Linked DNA regions of Homo sapiens: all the other regions are linked to region 2. The links are contacts of gene promoters, found by promoter capture Hi-C in human tissues and cell types (Jung and others, 2019). All regions are on one chromosome and are shown on one strand. The core of a region is centred on a gene start or on the middle of the fragment in contact, and the rest is flanking DNA. Distances in the headings are between cores, read along the strand shown. Region 1 overlaps FADS1 (fatty acid desaturase 1). Region 2 holds the start of RAB3IL1 (RAB3A interacting protein like 1). Region 3 has its middle 21 kb from the start of FTH1.

Region 1 (2,724 bases), core at 55-2,554, 100 kb after region 2:
ACTAAACCTTGCTGCTGCTCATTCTTTGGGTCTGCAAAGAGTGTTATTCCTTTAAGAGCTATAACAGCGGGAAGGTCCACGGCTCCATTCTTGAAGTCAGTGAGACCATACCCGCCGGAAGGAACCAACGCCCGACACAGCCCCACCCATCTCTCCTGTTTCTCACCTATACTGAAATTCTTGGGCAAAAGCTGTCTGTGGACACACCCAGGGGAAAGGCCAGCCCAGGCAGGTGTTTCTTAGTGGTTCCCCTCAGCCAATGCTTCCCATTCCTTGATGCATCCTTCTAACTAGAGCAGATACTCGGTGATCTTAAACTGTGGACACCTGGGAGCACCCTCAAAAGGCAGCTGGGCCTAGGGAGATGGCCTGTGCTTCTGTGTCAGGAGTTGGTTCCTTCAGGTGGGCTCGTGGTCTCGCTGACGTCAAGAATGAAGCCATGAACCTTCGCGGTGAGTGTTACAGCTCTTACAGGTGGCGTGGACCCAAAGAGTGAGCAGCAGCAAGATTTATTGTGAAGAGCAAAGAACAAAGCTTCCACAGCGTGGAAGGGTACCCGAGCAGGTTGCCGCTGCTGGACGTTGGGGGGTGTGAGGGGGAGCAGCCTTTTTTTTTTTTTTTTTTTTTGAGACGGAGTCTCCCTGTCGCCCAGGCTGGAGTGCAGTGGCGCGATCTCGGCTCACTGCAGGCTCCGCCCTCCCCCGGGGTTCACGCCATTCTCCTGCCTCAGCCTCCCGAGTAGCTGGGACTACAGGCGCCCGCTACCTCGCCCGGCTAATTTTTTGTATTTTTAGTAGAGACGGGGTTTCACTGTGTTAGCCAGGATGGTCTCGATCTCCTGACCTCGTGATCCACCCGCCTTGGCCTCCCAAAGTGCTGGGATTACAGGCGTGAGCCACCGCGCCCGGCCGGGAGCAGCTTTTATTCCCTTATTTGTCCCTGCCCATGTCCTGCTGATTTGTCCATTTTATAGAGCACTGATTGGTCCATTTTACAGGGTGCTGATTGGTCCATTTTACCTCTAGCTAGCTAAAGAGCACGGATTGGTGCATTTTACAAACCTCTAGCTACAGAAAAGTTCTCCAAGTCTGCACTCGACCCAGGAAGTCCATCTGGCTTCACCTCTCACTTCAACTTGGGTACAGCCTTCTGGCGGGCAGGAGGATGGCCTTTGGTGCGAACACTGCCGGAGTCCAGGGGGCTGGCTCCCTCACCTTTCATCTTCTCCCGGCACTTGCAGGATCCCTTTGTGGCCTTCCACATCAACAAGGGCCTTGTGAAGAAGTATATGAACTCTCTCCTGATTGGAGAACTGTCTCCAGAGCAGCCCAGCTTTGAGCCCACCAAGAATGTAAGACCCTGTGTTTGCTATGTCGCAACTATTGGTTGTTGAGGGGGACAGAGAGGGGGTGGAAGGAGAGTCTAGATGGGATCACAGTCATAGTAATCACAGTCAGTAGTAGCTCTGGGGAGTCTTGAGGTCCCTGCTTCTCTTGCATAGTCATGAGGTCACAGGCCCAAGGGAGCATGGCTTTGCAACCTATGGCTCCCCCAAGGCTGCCACTACCATGGCTGCCATCATTGTTATCATCATTGTTATCATATGAGCACTTACTATGCACCAAGCATAAACTCATAACTCTTACACATTTACAGATGAGATAACAGGCTCAGGGAGGTTAAGCAACACAGCCAAGGATCACACAGTTAGTAAATGGCAGAGCAAGGACTTAGTCCCCTGAACTCTTAGGCACTATCCCATGGCACCTCCTCCTGTCATCCTCATTGTCGTGGTATCTTTGCCTAGGACTGTGGACTTCCCACAGCTACCTCAGTGGGAGGTCCTTGAGCCTGAGAGGGCCCTTGTCTCCAGTAGCATTGGGGTGCAGATGAGAAGAATAACAGCTCCTCTTCCTCTTCTGCAGAAAGAGCTGACAGATGAGTTCCGGGAGCTGCGGGCCACAGTGGAGCGGATGGGGCTCATGAAGGCCAACCATGTCTTCTTCCTGCTGTACCTGCTGCACATCTTGCTGCTGGATGGTGCAGCCTGGCTCACCCTTTGGGTCTTTGGGACGTCCTTTTTGCCCTTCCTCCTCTGTGCGGTGCTGCTCAGTGCAGTTCAGGTGAGAGCCTTTGGCTTGTCAAGTGCACAGCAATGCTCAGCATCCCTGGGGAAAGCTCCTTGGGTGTTTGAGGAAGGCCAAGAGTGCCTGCCCTCCAAGCAGGGCAGATCTGAAGGTATGCAGGAGTGAGTGCAGGAACATGCATTCTGCTGTCTTGACCTGTCTGCTCTTTAGCCACATGGACATCTTCATTTCTCTCACTGCCTTTTTAGCTGCTTCTCCAAGGGTTCTCTTCTTCCTATGCGGTTTGTTCTCTGCCACAGCCCACCTGTGCCAGGAGCCAAGTTTCTGGTTTCTTAGCAAAGCTTGGCTCCCTCCCCACCACTGACATTGCCCAATATGTTAATAATGATTGAGCGCTAATTCTTGACTGTCAGGACCCATTTGGCAAGCCTTCTGCTCATGTTTCAGTCCTTTCTGTATTCTAGATGTCAGTCCATCATAAGTCATGAGCTTCAGGCCAGGTGTGGTGACTCATGTCTGTAATCCTAGCACTTTGGGAGGCCAAGGTGGCCGGATCACTTGATCTCAGTTCAAGACCAGCCTGGCCAACGTGGTGAAACCTCTACTAAAAATACAAAAAGGCCAGGCACAGTGGCTC
Region 2 (2,700 bases), core at 32-2,531:
CTAGAAAGTTGGAAGGGATGCTATGGAGAACTGCCTAGGTTGTTCACTGCACAAAGTGCTGGCCAAGGGAGCAAGCAAGGCATAGAATCCAGCCTCGCCTCCACTCTCCAGATTCCATACCTTGCTGTGCGCTGTGCCCAGCGGGGAAAGAGCATTGTCTATTTGTGCCCTGGACGTGGAGGTCTTAGAGAATACGTCCCCCATCCTCCATCCTCCACCAACGTGGAGCCCCAGGAGGGCAGAACCTATGTCTGTACAGTTTCCTGCTGGGTCCCCAGCCCCTTGCATGCCCCATAGTCTATGCTCAGATGGAGTGGCTGAATGTATGAATGAGTAGAATGAATGAATAAAATGTATCCTCAAACGAAGATCTGACTAACTTGAGCCTGCGGCCTGAGTCAGTGGGCCTGGAGGGGTAGCACTGGGACCTCTGGTAGCACCTAGAAGGGGAAGTACCTCCCACCACGCTCCCAGTCCTCCCCTAGACAGGGAAGGTGGGAGCCATGGTACCTGGCGGGAGAGAAGACGGGTTCTGCTCTTACTGGTCCAGTCCCAGGCTGAAGTTGAGACGAATGATCAGGACTCAGAATGGGTGGGACAGAGGAACTGAGGGACAGGTAGACCAGTCGTCTGGGATTCAGGGAAGGTTTCACGGAGGATGTGGGACCAGACAGGTGTGTGTATGTGTGTGTGTCGGTGGGGGTGGGGTGGGGAATACTATCCAGAGGGCAGATGGTGAGTAAAGGCAGGGATGGGCAGAGCGTGTTAAGTGGCAGGAGGCTGAGTGAGGAGAGTTGGACCAGAAGTGGAAACTCCTTCGGGATAAAACTCAGAGAGTAGGACTCAGAAAACTTGTTTCGGGTTTGTCCCCTCCCCTTCCCAGCAGGCAGGATGTTGCACAGGGACAGGCACTAAGCAGACAGCCTAGGGAAGGAGGGCCGGGTGAGGAGGGGGGAGGGTGTCTGCTGGCCTTAAGTGACAATCTGTGTGAGAATCGAAGAGCTGAGAGCTCGGGAGCCATTGTAGGTTCTTGAGCAGGGGTGGCCCAAAGTGGGTGGTGCGGAGGGCGACTGGAGAGGAGGAGTCAGCTGGGGAGTCTGAGCGCGGCGCGGCCCGCGGGATGTTGGGGGCCGGGTTCCCTCCGAGCGCCGTGGTCTCCCTGTCCCGGCGCGGCGGGCCGGGTGGGGCCAGGCCTTGGGAGCGCGCGCCGGATCCCAGCGCCGGGCCGGCGGAGGGGCGGGGCCGGGCACGTGTCCTCGGGCCGCTCCCCCCTCCGCCACGTGACCCGCCCAGGGCAGGGTCGGGGCTGGGCTGGGGGCCGCGAGCCCAGGCGTCTGAGACCTACTGACCGGCCGCGGGCAGGGCTGACAGGCGGTGGGGCGGCTCGGCCCCTGGCGGAGTCGGCGGCGGGCGGGGACGCGGCGCTGGGAGGACGCGGCGGCGCTGGGAACGGACGCCTGGGCGCCCCGAGGCGCCGGGATGTGGAGCGGGTAGGTCCGCGCGCGCTCGCGGTCCCGCGCTGGGTCTGGGCCGCGGTCGCCTCCCGGGACGGGAGGATTTCGGGGGTCCCCGCCGGGTCTGCGCCGCCACCCGGAGGTGCTGTGCGCCCCCGCCCTGCCTGCAGGCGAGCCGACTTGCAGCCAGGAGACTCCGGGGGAGGGGTCGGGGGTGTCTCTCGGGGTGCAGGGTGCGAAGGGTGGGCAGCCGACCGTCCCGGGGTGACAGCGTCAACTCCTCTTAGCTCATCAGGAGCGCAAGTGAGAAGAGTTGGGGTGTGGGGAAGAGTGTGCACGACTCTGGGGCATGCACCTAGAGGAAGGACCCCCAGCCCACCCTCCCAACCTGTCCCTCAACCCCTTCGCTGGATGAACTCTTGGAAAGCAGTGTAGCTGGGAAAGAGGGGCTGGGTCTTTGCCAGGGTGGCTCCCAAGTTGAGGGCAGAACCTCCTTGTGGGGCTCTGGAAGTACGGAGGCTCTCAGAGGTGTGGAGTGGGAACCCCCCCCGCCCCGGCCCCGCAGCCTGGAGTGGGGTAGCAGAGACTCTGGGTCCTGGATTAGTGGCCCCAGTGGCTGTGTCTGTTCAGGCCACTGGTTCTCAGGGGCAGTTGCAGTTCCTGGCCCATCTGATGTGGGACCCCTGCCCTGTATGTGCAGAAAGGTTGTGGTGTTTTTGTGGAGTTGGGCAAACACTTCCTCTTCCCCGTGGCCGGGAAAGACCAGGTCGTGGAGGAAATGTGGCCAGAATGGGGGACAGGTTGTACTCCTGTGCCCCCTGGGCCAGATGAGTGGTCCCAGGAGAGGGCTACTGCCCAGCTACAGCTGGGGAGTGAGGGAAGCCCCCCGGAAAGGCAGGCAGGATCCACTTCACTCCATGGCACCTAGCAAAGGTTGAGCTGCGATGCTAGGGGAGGGATGGCCTTTCATCCCCAGCAGGGGGTGTGGAGAGAGTGGGCTCCTGTTAGGGGTGAGGTGTGGAGAGGCTTGGGACTTTTTTTTTTTTTGAGACGGAGTCTTGCTCTGTCACCCAGGCTGGAGTGCAGTGGCGAGATCTCAGCTCACTGCAACCTCCGCTGCCTGAGTACAAGCAATTCGCCTGACTCAGCCTCCTGAGTAGCTGCGACTACAGGCACACACCACCACACCCGGCTAATTTTTGTATTTTTAGTAGAGACGGGGTTTCACAATATTGATCAGGCTGGT
Region 3 (2,700 bases), core at 22-2,521, 71 kb before region 2:
TTTGGTTACTGTAGCCTTGTAGTATAGTTTGAAGTCAGGTAACATGATTCCTCCAGCTTTGTCCTTTTTGCTTAGGATAATCTTGGCTATACAGGCTCTTTTTTGGTTCCATATAAATTTCAAAGTAGTTTTTTCTAATTCTGCAAAGAATGTCAATGGTAGTTTAATGAGAATAGCATTGAATCTGTAAATTACTTTGGGCAGTATGGCCATTTTCATGATATTGCTTCTTCCTATCCACGAGCATAAAATGATTTTCCATTTGTTTGTGTCCTCTCTGATTTCCTTGAGCAGTGGTTTGTAGCTCTCCTTGAAGAAATCCTTCACTTCCCTTGTTAGCTGTATTCCTAGGTATTTTACTCTTTGTAGCAATTGTGAATGGGAGTTCATTCGTGATTTGGCTCTCTGTCTATTGTTGGTGTATAGGAATGCTTGTGATTTTTGCACATAGATTTTGTATCCTGAGACTTTGCAGAAGTTGCTTATCAGCTTAAGATGCTTTTGGGCTGAAACGATGGGGTTTTCTAGATATAGGATCATGTCATCTGCAAACAGAGACAGTTTGACTTCTTCTTTTCCCCTATTTGAATACCCTTTATATCTTTCTCTTGCCTAATTGCCCTGGCCAGAACTTCCAATACTATGTTGAATAAAAGCGGTGAGAGAGGACATCCTTGTCTTGTGCCAGTTTTCAAGGGGAATGCTTCCAGCTTTTGCCCATTCAGTATGATATTGGTTGTGGGAGTGTCATAAATGACTCTTATTATCTTTAGGTATGTTCCTTCAATCCTTAGTTTTACCACAAAATAATAAGAGCCATTTATGATGTTGAATTTTATCGAAGGCCTTTTCTGCATCTATTGAGATAATCATATGTTTTTTGCCTTTAGTTCTGTTGAATTATGTTTATTGACTTGCATCTGTTGAACCAGCCTTGCATCCCAGGGATGAAGCCAACTTGATCATGGTGGATAAGCTTTTTAATGTGCTGCTGCATTCAGTTTGCCAGTATTTTATTGAAGATTTCCACATGGATGTTCATCAGGGATATTGGCCTGAAGTTTTCTTTTTTTGTTGTATCTCTGCCAGGTTTTGGTATCAGAATGATGCTGACCTCGTAAAATGGGTTAGGGAGGAGTCCCTCCATTTCAATTGTTTGGAATAGTTTCAGAAGAAATGGTACCAGCTCCTCTTGGTACCTCTGGTAGAATTCAGCTGTAAAGCCATTTTGTAGACTATTTATTCCTGCCTCAATTTCAGAACTTGTTATTAGTCTGTTCAGGGATTCAACTTCTTCCTGGTTCAGTCTTTGAGGGGGTATGTGTCCAGGAATTTATCCATTTCTTCTGGATTTTCTAGTTTATTTGCATAGAGGGGTTTATAGTATTCTCTAATGGTTGTTTGTATTTCTGTGGGGTCAGTGGTGGTATCCCCTTTATCATTTTTTATTGTGTTTATCAGTCTAGCTAGCGATCTATTTTACTAATTTTTTCAAAAAGCCAGCTTTATTGATTTTTTTGAAGGTTTTTTTTTTTTTTTTTTTTTTTTTTGAGACAGAGTCTTGCTCTGTCACCAGGCTGGAGTGCAGAGGCACGATCTCGGCTCACTGCAACCTCCGCCTCCTGGGTTAAAGCGATTCTCCTGCCTCAGCGTCCCGAGTAGCTGGGACTTCAGGTGCATGCCACCGCGCCCAGCTAATTTTTGTATTTTTAGTACAGACAGGGTTTCACCATGTTGGCCAGGATGGTTTTTATCTCTTGACCTCATGATCTGCCCACCTTAGCCTCCCAAAGTGTTGGGATTACAGGCATGAGCCACCGCGCCTGGCTGAAAGGGCATGAGCCACTGCGCCTGGCTGAAGGGGTGTGAGCCACCGCGCCTGGCTGAAGGGTTTTTTGTGTCTGTATCTCCTTCAGTTCTGCTCTGATCTTGGTTATTTCATTTCTTCTGCTTGCTTTGGGGTTTGTTTGCCTTGGGTCTCTAGTTCTCTCAGTTGTGATGTTAGGGTGTAGATTTGAGATTTTTCTAGCTTTTAGATGTGGATATTTAGTGCTATAAATTTCCCTCTTAATACTGCTTTAGCTGTGTCCCAGAGATTCTGGTACATTGTCTCTTTGTTCTCATTGATTTCAAAGAACTTCTTGATTTCTTGATTTCTGCCTTAATTTCATTCTTTACCTAGGAGTCATTCAGGAGCAGGTTATTCAGTTTCCCTGTAGTTGTGTGGTTTTAAATGAGTTTCTTAATCACAAGCTCTAATTTGATTACGCTGTGGTCTGAGAGACTGTTTGTTATGATTTCAGTTCTTTTCCATTGCCAGGGAGTGTTTTACTTCAAATTCTGTGATCAAATTAGAGTAAGAGCCATGTGGTGCTGAGGAGAATGTATATGCTGTTGTTTTTGGGTAGAGAGTTCTGTAGATCTCTAACAGATCCACTTGATCCAGAGCTGAGTTCAAGTCCTGAATATCCTTGTTAATTTGCTGTCTCGATGATCTGTCTAATATTAACAGTGAAGCGTTAAAGTCTCCCACTATCATTGTGTGGGAGTCTAAGTCTCTTCGTAGATCGCTATGAACTTTTTTTATGAATCTGGGTGCTCCTGTGTTGGGTGCATACATGTATTCTGGATAGTTAGCTATTCTTATTAAATTGAACCGTTTACCATTATGTAATGTCCTTGTCTTTTTTTTTTTTTTTT

What was found. The method cuts DNA at HindIII sites, captures the fragments that hold promoters and counts their contacts. A contact is called where the count stands out against the background at its distance.
Region 1: a fragment that was not itself captured here is called in contact with the fragment with the promoter of RAB3IL1 in region 2 in 2 of the 25 tissues and cell types used here (IMR-90 fibroblasts and bladder).
Region 3: a fragment that was not itself captured here is called in contact with the fragment with the promoter of RAB3IL1 in region 2 in 3 of the 25 tissues and cell types used here (H1 embryonic stem cells, adrenal gland and neural progenitor cells).

What each region holds. Positions count from the first base shown.
Region 1 is chr11:61,811,870-61,814,593 of GRCh38, reverse strand. FADS1 (fatty acid desaturase 1) reads left to right here. Exons shown (of 12, transcript NM_013402.7): 2 at 1,241-1,351; 3 at 1,926-2,123. Among named protein-coding and RNA genes, the nearest start is that of MIR1908, 2.0 kb to the left of the region's middle. The HindIII fragment of the contact is 3,503 bases long and covers 1-2,724 here.
Region 2 is chr11:61,916,147-61,918,846 of GRCh38, reverse strand. It overlaps RAB3IL1 (RAB3A interacting protein like 1), which reads left to right and starts at 1,281. Exons shown (of 10, transcript NM_013401.4): 1 at 1,281-1,490. The coding sequence starts at 1,480. The HindIII fragment of the contact is 7,999 bases long and covers 1-2,638 here.
Region 3 is chr11:61,987,361-61,990,060 of GRCh38, reverse strand. No RefSeq gene overlaps it. Among named protein-coding and RNA genes, the nearest start is that of FTH1, 21 kb to the right of the region's middle. The HindIII fragment of the contact is 6,875 bases long and covers 1-2,700 here.